3 separate regions of the Homo sapiens genome follow, and regions 1 and 3 are each linked to region 2. Evidence: promoter capture Hi-C in 16 types of primary human blood cells and fetal thymus (Javierre and others, 2016). All regions are on one chromosome and are shown on one strand. Each heading gives the region's core, a stretch centred on a gene start or on the middle of the fragment in contact. The rest is flanking DNA. Distances are from core to core; before and after follow the strand shown. Region 1 has its middle 250 kb from the start of LINC02475. Region 2 holds the start of KCTD8 (potassium channel tetramerization domain containing 8). Region 3 has its middle 230 kb from the start of LINC02475.

What was found. The method cuts DNA at HindIII sites, captures the fragments that hold promoters and counts their contacts. A CHiCAGO score of 5 or more calls a contact.
Region 1: a contact is called between a fragment that was not itself captured here and the fragment with the promoter of KCTD8 in region 2, in 1 of 17 cell types (endothelial precursors). The highest score is 7.1, in endothelial precursors.
Region 3: a fragment that was not itself captured here is called in contact with the fragment with the promoter of KCTD8 in region 2 in 1 of 17 cell types (endothelial precursors); the score reaches 5.6 in endothelial precursors.

The regions. Positions count from the first base shown.
Region 1 is chr4:43,769,136-43,774,006 of GRCh38, forward strand. No RefSeq gene overlaps it. Among named protein-coding and RNA genes, the nearest start is that of LINC02475, 250 kb to the right of the region's middle. The HindIII fragment of the contact is 983 bases long and covers 2,712-3,694 here.
Region 2 is chr4:44,446,181-44,450,419 of GRCh38, forward strand. KCTD8 (potassium channel tetramerization domain containing 8) reads right to left here and starts at 2,629. Exons shown (of 2, transcript NM_198353.3): 1 at 1,383-2,629. The coding sequence starts at 2,343. The HindIII fragment of the contact is 5,511 bases long and covers 23-4,239 here.
Region 3 is chr4:43,787,359-43,791,584 of GRCh38, forward strand. No RefSeq gene overlaps it. Among named protein-coding and RNA genes, the nearest start is that of LINC02475, 230 kb to the right of the region's middle. The HindIII fragment of the contact is 2,508 bases long and covers 110-2,617 here.

The DNA.
Region 1 (4,871 bases), core at 1,953-4,452, 680 kb before region 2:
TTTTCAACCACTTAAGTAATCTTTAAATGTTTCAGACTTTCCCTATAGCATTCCTTTTCTTCTGAACCCTCACCAGACTTTTTCAAGCATTAACTTCAAAACTATTTCAGCTTCTATTCCACTATCCAGTTCTAAAGCCACTTTCCCATTTTGAGGCTGTGTTATAGCAACACTCCACTTCTCTGGTACCAATTTATTTGTGCTGCTATAATGGCATACCTGAAATTGTGCAATTTATAAGAAACTGAAATTTATTGGCTCATGATACTGGAGGCTGGGAAGTTCAAGGTCAAGGGATCAGCAGGCCCATGGCCTGATTTCTCTGCTTCCAAGATGGTGCCTTGCATGTTGTATCCTCCGAAGACAAGGGAAATGCTGGATTCTCACATTTAAAGACATCAGGGGGCCAACATAGAGAGTCCATACCAAAAATATCTTTTATTAAGATATTAAACTCTCCCATAAGAATGGATCCCAATGGCCTAATCACTTTGTAAAGTTCCTATCTCTTAATGCTGTTACAGTTGCAATTAAATCCCACCATGCATTTTGGAGGGGACAAACATTAAAACAATAGCAGTCATACACTTCCTTATTGTTAAAGTGCACATTATAATATCTATTTCACAAATTTCTTAGAAGGAGCAATCCCAAGTTACTGTAGGCACAATTCAAAAATAAAAACAATAATCACTGGAGGAGTGATTATTTGAATACAATCTTATGGAAATTCAATAGTAAAATAGCCAGAGCAAGATAATAACATTAATTACTACTGTTTGGAATATTAATTGTTTGGCTTTTTATAAACTTTTCTGTTCATTTTTACTTTTGTTTACTTTTCTGTTCATGACCTACTCTTTGTTAGCCAGAGACTTCCACGTGCCTTTTAGAAGAATTAGGATTGCTGCAAAAGCAATAAAAACAGAATCAATGCCCAGTTTATGACTTCTAAAACCAGCATTTATGTACTTATTTTTGAAAGCCGAAGTTTTTTCTTGTTTTTGTTTTTTGTTGTTGTTGTTTGTTTGTTTTGAGACAGAGTTGCACTCTGTCATCCAGGCTGGAGTGCAGTGGTGAGATCTTGGCTCACTGCAACCTCTGCCTCCTGGGTTCAAGCTATTCTCCAGCCTCAGCCTCCTGAGTAGCTGGGATTACAGGCACCTGCTACCATGATCAGCTAATTTTTGTATTTTTAGTAGAGATGGGGTTTCACCATTTTGGCCAGGCTGGTCTCAAACTCCTGACCTCAAGTGATCTGCCTGCCTCGGCCTCCCAAAGTGCTGGGATTATAGGCATGAGCCACAGCACCCAGTCGAAAGCCAAAGTTTTTAATTATATTTATGTTCTCTATGATTTATCAAGACATGGAGTAAGATAGTGTTTATGAAATGATAATGGAATTCAAGAAGAGACGGCATCCCCTTTTCTTAAGAAATCAGATAAAAATTACCTAGAAGTCAAGTAAGAAAGAAGAGCTGGTTTGGGCTTAGCCTTTGTAAAGTTCACAAGGAACATCCAAGACCCAAAAATGGTGGTTTTGAGTGAGGCTCACTTAAATTTCACACAAAATACATTCAGGGTTCTAGGCTACTGCAGTGATCTGACTAGTTTTGTGTGTGAACCTGAGCTTTCGCACTTGCCCATGTTATAACCACATTGCTACCTCTCTGTCTCTTTCAACTAAGTGCAGTGAAATTGGTGGCAGGCATTTTTTTACAAAAGATAGCTCAAGCCAGCCATCTAACTTTACAACTCAAGGAACCAGAAAACATAAACTATGCTGAAAAATAGCAGAAAGGAGGAAACAATAGAGATTAGAAGATAGAACAATAAAGTAGGGAAAAAATCAATAGAAAATATCAAGGAAACCAAAAGTTGGTTCTATGAAAAGACTGTTAAAATTTAAAAGCCATTACCTAGTTACACTAAGAAAATAAGAGAGAAGATCCCTAATACTAAAATCAGAAACTACCACCAATTCTACAGAAATAGAAAGGATTATAAAAGTACTAAGAACAATTGTATACCAACAAACTCAACTTAGATGAAATGGGCAAACTGCTATTAACGCAAAACTTACCAAGACTAAATCACAAAGAAATTAAAAAATCTGAATATGCCTATAGCTAATAAGGATATTGAATAATCAAAAAACAACCTTCCAATAAAGAAAAGTCCTGGGCCTGATGGCTTAACTGGTAAATTCTACCAAACATTTAAAGAGCTAACACCATTACTTCAATTTTTTTTCAAGAAATTGAAGAGGAAATACTTGCTAAATTTTTCTATGAGGTCAGCATGACCCTGATTCCAAAGCCAGAAAAAGACACTATACTAAAAATGAAAATATAGGCCAATGTCCCCTATAAACATTGATGCCAAAATCCTCAACAAAATACTAGCAAATCAAATCAGCAGCATATTAAAAGGAATATATACATCATATCAAGTGAGATTTATTCCTGGAACACAAAGATGGTTCAATGTATGAAAATTGACCAATATACCATACTGCAATAACAGAATGAGGTAGAAAAATAGACATGATCATTTCAAATGATGCAGAAAATGCATTGACAAAATACAACACCCTTTCATGATAAAAACAGTAAACAAAGTTGGAATATAACAAAGCTGCCTAAATATAAAAAAAAGTTATGTATAATAAAAAACACCGTAAATGTCATATTCCATGGGAGACAACCGAAAGCTTTTCTTATAAGATCAGGAATAAAGTAAAGGACATTTAACTAGAAAAGAAGAAATAAAATTATCCGTGTTTGCAGATGATATGATCTTATATGCAGAAATCCATAAAGAATCCACAGAAAAACTTTTACAACTAATAAATAAATTCAGCAAAGTAGCGGGATACAAAGTCAACACATGCAAAAATCAGTTGCAATACTATACACTGGCAATAAACAATAAATAAGCTGGAAAGAAAATTAGGAAAAGAATTTTGCATCCAAGGGAATCAAAAAGAACAATGTTTAGCAATTAACTTAAACAAGACTTGTACAATGAAAACTTGAACATGTTGCTAAAAGAAATTGGAGCCATAAATAAATGGAAGTGTATCACATAACAATGGATTGGAAGAGTTAATATTATTAAGATGTCAATACTGCCCCCCAAAAATAAATGGAAGTGTATCCCATAACTATGGATTGGAAGAGTTAATATTAAGTTGTCAATACTACCCAAAACAATCTACAAATTTAATGCAATCCCTATAAAAATCCCAATAATGATTTTTGCAGAAATTAAAATAAAATCTTAAAATTTATTTGAAATCCCAGGAGATGTTGAATAACCAAAACAATTTTGAGAAACAAAGCTGGAGAACTTATACTTCCTGATTTCAAAACACAACAAAACAATGATATGGTAGTCAAAACAGTGTGGTACTAACATAATGACAGACGTATAGACCAATGGAATAAAATAGAGATTCCAGAAATAAACCCTTACATATGTATCCAAATAACTTGTCACAAGGGTGCCAAAAACATTCAATAGGAATGACCAGTCAATTCAACAAAAGGTGCTGTGAAAACTGGATATCCACGTGCAAAAGAATGAAGCTGGACACCATATATAACACCATATATAAAAATTAACTCAAAATGGATCAAAGACTTACACTTAAGAGCTAAAAATATAAAACTCTTGGAAAAAACAGGGCAAAAGCTTCAAAGGTTGAATTTGTCAATGATTTCCTGGATACAACACTAAATTTTGTTTTCCTTTTGGCAAACAAAATTTGGCAACAAAAGAGAAGCTAGAAAAATATGACTTCATGAAAATTTAAAAATTTTGTGTGTTAAAAACCACAAAGAGCAGAACAAAAAAGCTACCTAGAGAATGAAAAATATTTGGAAATCATATATCTGATAAGAGATTAATAGCCAGAATATATTAATAACTCCTGAAAACTTAACAAAAAGCAAACAACCTCAAACAACCTGATTCAATAATAGACAAAGGACTATTAAAAGTGATGCTTGGCCAGGCACGGTGGCTCACACCTGTAATTCCAGCACTTTGGGAGGCCGAGGCGGGAGGATCACCTGAGGTCGGGAGTTTGAGACTAACCTGACCAACATGGAGAAACCCCATCTCTACTAAAAATACAAAATTAATCAGGCATGGTGTCACATGTCTGTAATCCCAGCTGCTCAGGAGGCTGAGGCAGGAAAATCGCTTGAACCCAGGAGGCGGAGGTTGCAGTGAGCCCAGATCGCACCACTGCACTCCACCCTGGTCAACAAGAGCTAAACTCCATCTCAAAAAGTGATGCTCAACATCACTAATAATTAGGGAAATGCAAATCAAAACTACAGTGACATAATACATCATAAACATTAGTATGGCTACCATTAAAATAACAGAAAAGTGTTGGTGATAATATCGAGTACTTCATACTCTTGTGCATTGGTTGTGGGAATGTGAAATGGTAGTCACTGTGGAAAACATTATAGTGGTTGCTCAAAACATCTAAAAAAATTACCATATGATCCAGCAATTCCACTGTTGGGTACATACCCGAAATAATTAAAATCTAGGTCTCCAAGAGACATTTGCACACTCATTTTCATAACAGCATTATTCAAAATAGTTAAATTGTGAGAAAAACCCAAGTGTTCATCAGTAGATGAATGAATAAATAGAGTGTACTATATACAGAGACAATGGAATATTATCCAGCCATTAAATAGAAGCAAATTTTGACACATGCTACAACATGGTTGAAACTTGAGGGCGTTCTGCTAAATGAAATAAGTCATTACAAAAAGGTCAACCCTTATGATTCCACTTCCATGAGATACATACTTAGAATAGTCCAAGTCATAGAGGCTAAGGGT
Region 2 (4,239 bases), core at 1,379-3,878:
CACTAAGCCAACCTTCCAGTTAAGCTTGCACCTGTGCAAGGAGAGTTCCCTTCCATTTCTCCAGTCAAAATAAAGTCCAGAAAATTGTTCAGTTCCCAATTACTGTAGTGACTAAATTACCAAAATAAATAAATTCAATTTAAGCTGGTCTATTTCCATCACAGGATTTCAAGGCTATTCTCCCTATGCTACAGGCAAGTTTTAACTTGTGTCTGGCCAAAGGAAAAACCTTTGCCAAATAATGTTCCTGCTGCCATCCCAGCTGGCTTTTCGTTTGTCCAAATCGCTCTCTAGTCGTTGTCTTTTCACTTCATAAACGCCACTGAGAATTGTGCCCACCACAGCCCCACCCCACTCCCAATCCCACTCCCAATCCCCAGGTTCAGATTATGGTATTTGGTATAGTTCTTGAACTCCACATAGCCCGCTCCGGAAGCGCACTGCAAAACGCACCCCAGATGCTTTCCCAAATCTATTCCTTCATTCTCTCATTTCAGAAAATCGCTCTATTTATTCACCCTGAGAAAGTGGACTCAACCCCCGCTTTCGCGCTGGAGAAGGAAACACAATCATTCTCTCTTTCTCTTCCCCTCCCTCCCCAACACCTTCCCTCCCTCCTCCCTTGCCCCTCCTAATCTCCAACCCTAAGAGCAGCACTCAGACATGCAAACTTTCTAATTCCTTCCACCCTCCCCTGTCCCAAACACTGGGCAATTAGACTGGAGATAACAGACGCAGGGAAATCTGGGTTTCCATCTGTCAAGGAGTCCCCTTTCCCCACACCCGCTCTCATGCCCCCGCCCCCTCGAGGGGCTCTGGGGGCACCTTTATCGCTTCTCCCCTGCCCTCTAGAAAACCACCCGTAACTGGAGGCTCCCGCGCGGCAGCTGCACCAACAGCAGGTGATCCAGGTGGTGCGAGGCGATGCCTTGTTATGGCATCCTGCCCTCTGCAGGGACACCACTGAGGGCCACATGAAATGACCCCCAGCAGTCCTGCAAAAGCAAAGGGGTGGAGGAGGGTCTATGCACCCTGCCCTGTGCCCCAGTCTCTCCCACCCTGTCCTCCGCAACCGAGGAGACCCTGGCATCTGGGAGCGGGCTGGGCCGAGAAGGCAAGATCAATAAAGTTCAGCAAGTAGACAGCTGGGAGCTGGGTGCTACTGAGTTCTAGAAAGGGGGAGTAGAGACGGAAATATCCGAATCGGTGAAATGTAAATCGTGTCTACTGCATAAGGGAATCGTGCAGGGAGAGCCGCTCTCTATAAGGAGTTAACCAGCGCCTGCCCCGGACACCCCCGCGGGGCCTCCAGCGGGGCTCAAACTGGCGGCGGCTCAGCAGGGGGCGAGGGGTGCTGGGAAACGCCGGGGCTGCGAACTTACGGAAGAAAATGTACTCGGTGTAGCTGCTCCAGATCTTGTCGTCGCGGTACTGGTTGACGAAGGCGGCGGTGCCCGAGGAGTTACACGCCACCATGTGGAAGCCGGCCTCGGACAGGCGATCAAAGGCCTGCTCCAAGTAGGTGAACTTGAGGTAGAAGCGGGACGTGTACTTCTCCGGCTGCCGGTCGGGGTCGCGGCTCTCGTTGAGCGTGTCCCCGAAGACCTCCTTGGCCAGCGCGATGCGCCCGCACACCATGATGCGCGCCACACGCCGGAATTTGGCGTCGGCCTGGTTGTCGCGCACGGTGGTGTAGGAGCCCCGGTAGCCCAGCGTGAGGAAGCCCGAGCGCTTGTCCTGCGCGCCGCCGCCGCCGCCACCACCGTGCGCTCCCGGGCCCGAGGGCACGGCGGCCGCCGCCCCGCGCAGCAGCAGCGCGTCGCTGCTACCCTGCGAGACGTTGTCCTCCAGGTCGCTCTGGCAGCCCTCGTCGTTGAGAGAGTTCTGCTTGGTGACCTTGGGCGACAGCAGCTTGACCAAGTCGGTGAGCTGGAAATACTCGGCCTCGCGCAGCAGCCGCTCCTTCTCGGGGAAGTGCTCCGGCAGCGCGAGTTGCTTGTCCCGCAGATAATCCAGCACGTACCTGAAAAGGAAGCCGTCCCGGTCGATGAAGAAGCGCGCCCGGCTGTCCCTGGGCAGCTCGCCCCGGCGCCGGGCGCCGCCACGGGGACTAGAGGGCGAGAACATGCTGGCCAAAGTACTGTCCGGGACGCTGAGCAGCGTCGAGTGCTTGGTCACATAAACCTGGCCGCCTACGTTCAGCTCCACTACTTCAGGGAAGGGCGAGGGTGCGCAGGGCCCCGGGGCGGCGGCGGCCGACGCGCCGGGCGAGCTGGACGAGGAAACCATCTCGCTAATGGGCAGGATGGTGCTGCCGCCGCTGCCCGTGTCCTTCAGAGCCATAGTCCCCCCGCCGCCGGCCCAGTGACCCGAGAGAGCTGCACTTTCTCGTTCCCGGAGCCCGCGCCCCAGCCCTCCGCGTGCTCCTGGCGCTCTGCGCCCTCGGACTGGGCGGCGCGTTCCTCCGACCGGGGCGGCCCCGCTCAGGGTTCGGGGCAGCGGCGGCGTCGGCGGCGCCCGAGCTCCATCGGAGGAGAGACGCGCGAGAGAGGAGCTCCGCCGGTGCGGCGGCGGCAATGGAGAGGCAAGAAGGAGCTGCTGCTCCTTTGGGGCGAGGGCGGGGAAGTGTGAGAGAGACTTGCGAGAGGCTCTAGGGCTGCTGCTCGGCTCTCCGTGGGGAGGGCGGGAGGAGGGGCCGAAGCAAAGAAAACTCGCCGCCCCGGCAGCTTGCAAGCGTGCCGCGAGGCCGGAGCGCCGACGGTGGCGCTAACTACTCCTGGCAGCACGGGAGGAGGCACTGACGTCAAGCCCCGGACTGGGACCCGAGCCTCAGCTGTCATTTAAAGAGATAGGCTGCAGCCGCGGCTCCCGGGCTCCGACGCTAGGGGGCGGGGCCGAGAGCCGAGCCTGCAAGAGGTGCAGCTCCCCGACCCGCGGGGACAGGCAGGCAGGGAGCTCCTAAAGCAAAAGCGAGAAAAAGGGACAGCGCTCTCATTCCTTCATTTCACTCCCTCCTTGGGTCTGTGCCACCCCCTTTCCTCCCTCCTTTCCTTCTTCTCTTCCTTCCTTCCTTGCCTCCCTCCCCAGTAAAACTAGTTTTTTGCACTTTCATTAAGGTAAGGAGTGGAGGAGCGGAGAGGGGAGAATAAGGTTTTGATTATAGCAAAGATGCCAGGCTCCTAATCTGAAATCACCACAAATGTTGGCTTGCCAGCAGTGATTGCAAAAAGATTACGTGAGGGTGGGAAGGTACATCTCTTGTAGTGGCTTTATGATACAGTTTAAGTGAAGGGCTAAATGCGCGTACCTCTCTTGGAATCAAATTTCACGACTGCGTGCACTGAATATCCTTGAATAATTTTTAAAACTTTGTAATCTGCTTTCAGTTCACAATAATAAAGGAGTGTATGTAACAACTGTTTCCTTCCGACATTTTTACAATTTTTAGTTTTAAATTAGATGCTTAATAAATGTTTATAGAGGGAGAGACGGAGCCCGAGAGGAAATTTACTCGATTTGTTCATTCTTTCTAATCCTGATCAGTCTCATTAATCTCTCCATTTCCCTTTCAGCTCCATCAAACAAGAGAAGTGGCTGATATTTTTATTAGTCTTCTAACCCCAAGAGTAAGGTCACAAATAAAAATTATATGAATTTAAGCTCACCTTAATTTCCATGTGTACATAGTACAGGTACAGTCTGCAAAATGAGCATTACTTGTGATAAAGACTGAAAATAGGAAAGCAAATGAGAAATATTTCTTCTACCCTGGGGCATACATCTGTGTTCAGAAACATAAAGAATCATTGATTTATGAAGTACAAAAGAGAAAAGGGTGTATTGTGGCACAAAGTAGTTTGCTTCAATTATCATAACAATATTACAGATGAACTTTATCCATTAGCAGTCGATATACAGATTTTAATATTTTTTAAAAAGTTAAATGCCTACTAACAACTCCTTTTCTTCAAACCACCCAAAAAAGTATCAAATTTCAGATACGGTTGTAAATTAATACATTATTTTTGGAACATTACAAATTATGTTTAAATCATTGATCCTTATAAGCTGCATCCATAGACAATGTTATACCAATTTTGAAGTTGCATTATATGAAGCAGAGAGAACCTAATGGACCAATGAAAGAACAGAATATATTTGCCAAAGGACTGAGACTTAAAACGGGGGTTTCGGTATGCATCATCATGCAATCCTTTTACTCAAAACTATTGTGTCCTG
Region 3 (4,226 bases), core at 114-2,613, 660 kb before region 2:
ATCATACCTAATCAAAATCTAATCATATGTAAACAAATTACAATACCATCTGATACTCAAGGTAATGATATTTAAAAGTGGGAAACGTAAAGAAATCTAAAGGGAAGTAAGCTTTTCCCACTCCACTTGAACAAATAAAATGCTGATACCAACAGACTCTGATAATTCACATATATACATTGCAATACCCAGAGCAATCACATTCAAATATAATATAACAAAATCAAGAAAGGATCCAGGAAAATGTCTAGGTAATCTACACAATTGCAAAAAAAAAAAAAAAAAAAAAAAAAAAAAGAAAAGAAAAGAAAAAAAAAGGAATAAGAAACAGAGAAAACAAATAATATAAAGTAACAAAATCAAGTTCTAACATATCACTAATTGCCTTAAGTATAAATGACCTGAATATACCAAATGACAGAGATTGACAGAGTGGATTAACAAAAAAAAAAAAAAAAGAAGATGATGTATCCATTTACTGTCTATAAGGAACTGACTTCAAATTCAATTACATGGGTTGGTTAAAATTAAAGGGTGGAAAGTCATATACTAGCCAAACACTAATTTACAAAGAGCAGCAGAGGTTACATTAATAAATTAGTACAGCCATTACGGAAAAAATAATTGGCAGTTCCTTAAAAACACCAAACGTGCAATGACAATACTACCCAATAATTACACACTTGGCCATTAATCCCAGAAAAATGATAATTTAGGTTCACAAAAAAATCTGTGCACAAATATCCATAGCTTTTTTCATAATAGTAAAAAAAAACAGAAACAGCCAAATATGCTTGAATTAGTAAATATAATTAAGTGGGAAAAAGCTAACTTAAAAAGGCTGCATATTATATTATTTTATTTATATAATATTTTTGAAATGGAAAAATATATATAGAAATGGAGAACTATGAACTAGAGGTTTCCCAGTTGTAAGAAGGAGGAGGGGAAAGCAAAAGAGAAGTGGATATGATTATAAAAGGGCAATGCAAGACATCCCTGTGGTGACAATAGTGTTTTGTAATTTGATTTCATGGTGAATATATGAACCTACACATGAGATAAATTTGCATAAACACATAAATGATTAAAAGTAAAACTGGAGAGAGTTGAGTAAGTTGTGCATTCTAACATTGTTAATATCCTAGTTATGATATTACACTATAGTTTTTCAAGATGTTACAACTGGGGGAAACTGACTGAAGTCTAAACAAGGCTCACCTGTATTATTTGTAAAAACTACATGTGAATCTACAACTTTACAAAATAAATGGTGTAATTAAAATTAAATGGGCATGTGTGTATATATTTAAAATTCTCCCGTTTGCCTTATTGATTCATGTGTTATTTAAAATTCTGATGTTTAATTTCAAAATAATTGAAAATTTTGTAGGTATTTTAATATCATTGATTTCTAGCATATTTTACATTATTTCAGTCTTTTTAAATATGTTGAGATTTGTTTTATGGTCCAGTTTTGCTTTTTTTTTTTTTTTTCTTTTTTTTTTGAGATGGAGTCTCACTGTCTTGCCCAGGCCGGAGTGCAGTGGCACAATCTCGGCTCACTGCAAGCTCCGCCTCCTGGGTTCACGCCATTCTCCTGCCTCAGCCTCCCGAGTAGCTGGGACTACAGGCGCCCACCACCATGCCCAGCTAATTTTTTGTATTTTTAGCAGAGACGGGGTTTCACCTTGTTAGCCAGGATGGTCTCGATCTCCTGACCTAGTGATCCGCCCCCCTTGACCTCCCAAAGTGCTGGGATTACAGGCATGAGCGCCCGGCCAAGTTTTGCTTTTTTATGGCAGGAGGACCAATCCTTCCCATAATTTGAACTAATATGTTCTTATTCAAGAGTTCTCTTTTTAAGCACATAATTTCAGAAGACTTTTTCAGAATCTCTAATCAACTAAACGGTCATGAGTAAGAGTCAGTACACTGAAATAAGTGATTGGATATAAGTCCTGGTTTCATCATTTTTTAGGTGTATGAGATTTAACTTATGATATTAAGGTGCTATATTTTTTTCTAGTGCAAAATATATCACTACATTTACAATGTGAAGAACATTATTTTGAAATGTACAAAACAGTTACACTAAGCATGTAGTGTTTGTTCCTAAAGATGTTCCTAAACAAACAGCTAAATGAGAATCTCTTTTGAGGTATTAATTTCATCTCACCAAAGCATTAATTTGCGACGTTGGGATACTAGATGCAAGATTCTATGCATTTCTTTTGTCATCTGGGTTTTGAAATATCTTGCTTTTCAAAAATTCTATTCTGATTTGTTTAAACCATAACTCTACTATGTGTTTCTTATTATATATCTGTCTTCATTTTCACTTATGTTGTGGAAGACTGACAGATTTCCTTTGCACACATCGATATAACTCATTACTACTAGCATTACTGCTGCTTATCCATCTTGCTCCAGTCCTCATTGCTGTTGCACTTTCCTCATCAGCTTCCTTCTTCCTTTTGCTAGTACTGCTGATTTTCCCTATCTCACCAATGAGTCACATCCTCAAGGTGCTGGCATATTTCAGACATCTCTACCTTATTCAAGACTTTTCCATTTTATAAATTTTGATCAGCCCTATTTAACTTCATAGTGGGCAAGCTTTAACTAGCTCTTATAAATGTGTATTATTTGAGATGAGAAACAGGTTCCCAGAAAGCACTGCCAAAAAATCATCCAGAAGTCAAATGTTAATTATATCTATTATTTCAAATTTTTATTATGAACATTTTGAAAAACACAAGTAGCAGAGAGTAATCTAGTTAAATTCATATACCCTTCACCCAGCCTCAACAAATTTAAACAACTGGCCAATTTTGTTTTATCTATTATCTATACGCACCAAATTATCCTTGTTTCCCTTTCTGTTAGTTTAAAACAAATTCTAGCCACTATATCATTTTACCCATAATACTTTAGTATGAGAACTATTGAAGAAAAAACTTTTACTTAATATAACCCTATCTGGATTAAAACAATTTACAATAATAATTATTAAATATTATAAATATATGTTATATCATCCCTGATTATAAAACAGTAAGTTATAACCAAGGGAAACATATATTGCCATTTTTAATTTTAAAACTTGTACTAACCTATTATAATACATTTTATACACATCTATTCTATTCATTTTCAAATCATGCGGTTAGTATTAAAATCCACCAAATATATTACATACAGCATATTCAAGTTTTGTAAAAGATTTCACATCACTATTTTCATTTTGTGAGGTGAGTTATATATAACTAAGAAAAATTTAGAGTCAATCTAATTTTATCTAGGCTTGCAGTCATATTCGTCTTTCACTCTTAACACCACTTGGTAGTAAGGTCTTTAAAATGTGTATTTCCTTAGTAAATTAGTAAAGGGTATGGAATTTGTCACATTTTGCAGATGAAGAAACTGAGGCTCAGGAAATACTTAATATAAGTAATAAATGGAAAAGCCAGCTTTTATACCCTGATGTCTTTTCAGCCCATTATGATGACTTTTTCCTGTGTAATTGTGATGGTAATATTAAATCGCATTGTTTCTTCTACACCAGCCATGGTACCAAATGTCACCAGAGAGAACTTAGTAATGGCCATAATTTCAAAGATAGAAACTCTGAAGTAAAAGCAAAATTCTTCATTTCATTTTACCTTCCAGTAGTTTTTCCTTAAAACTATTCAATAGAGACATTAGTCTATCACCCAAAACTCCTTGACTCCACCTAAACTCTATTAATGACTACAGTGATCAGTGCATACTTTTCCTCACAATGAGGTGTTTAAATTGATTTTAGAATCAACTCTGATGCATGTCCAAGGAGTTCCTAAATATTCTCAATTACATCTCTTCCAGGTCTTATGAATACATCCCCCATTTCACTGAATTTTTTAAAAAACAACTCTATGCAAAGGAAAACTATATGTGTTATATGGTATATAAAAATGATTAAGTACTTTCAATGCCTTCAAGAGAGTTCACAAAAAAGGTATTAAAGAAATGTGCATAAATTATTACAATAAAAGTGAAAATGAAATTATCTTAAGAAAGACACACAAAAAAGTAATATGGGAATTAAAGAGGCCATGTAACTTTCAGAAAAGTATAGAGAAGAGATATAAGACTGAAGAAATATACCTCTCTGGTCAGGCTCAGCAAGTGACATGGGGAACCCAGAGTTTAAGAGGCAGATTTTCAGCATATAAGATGTATAT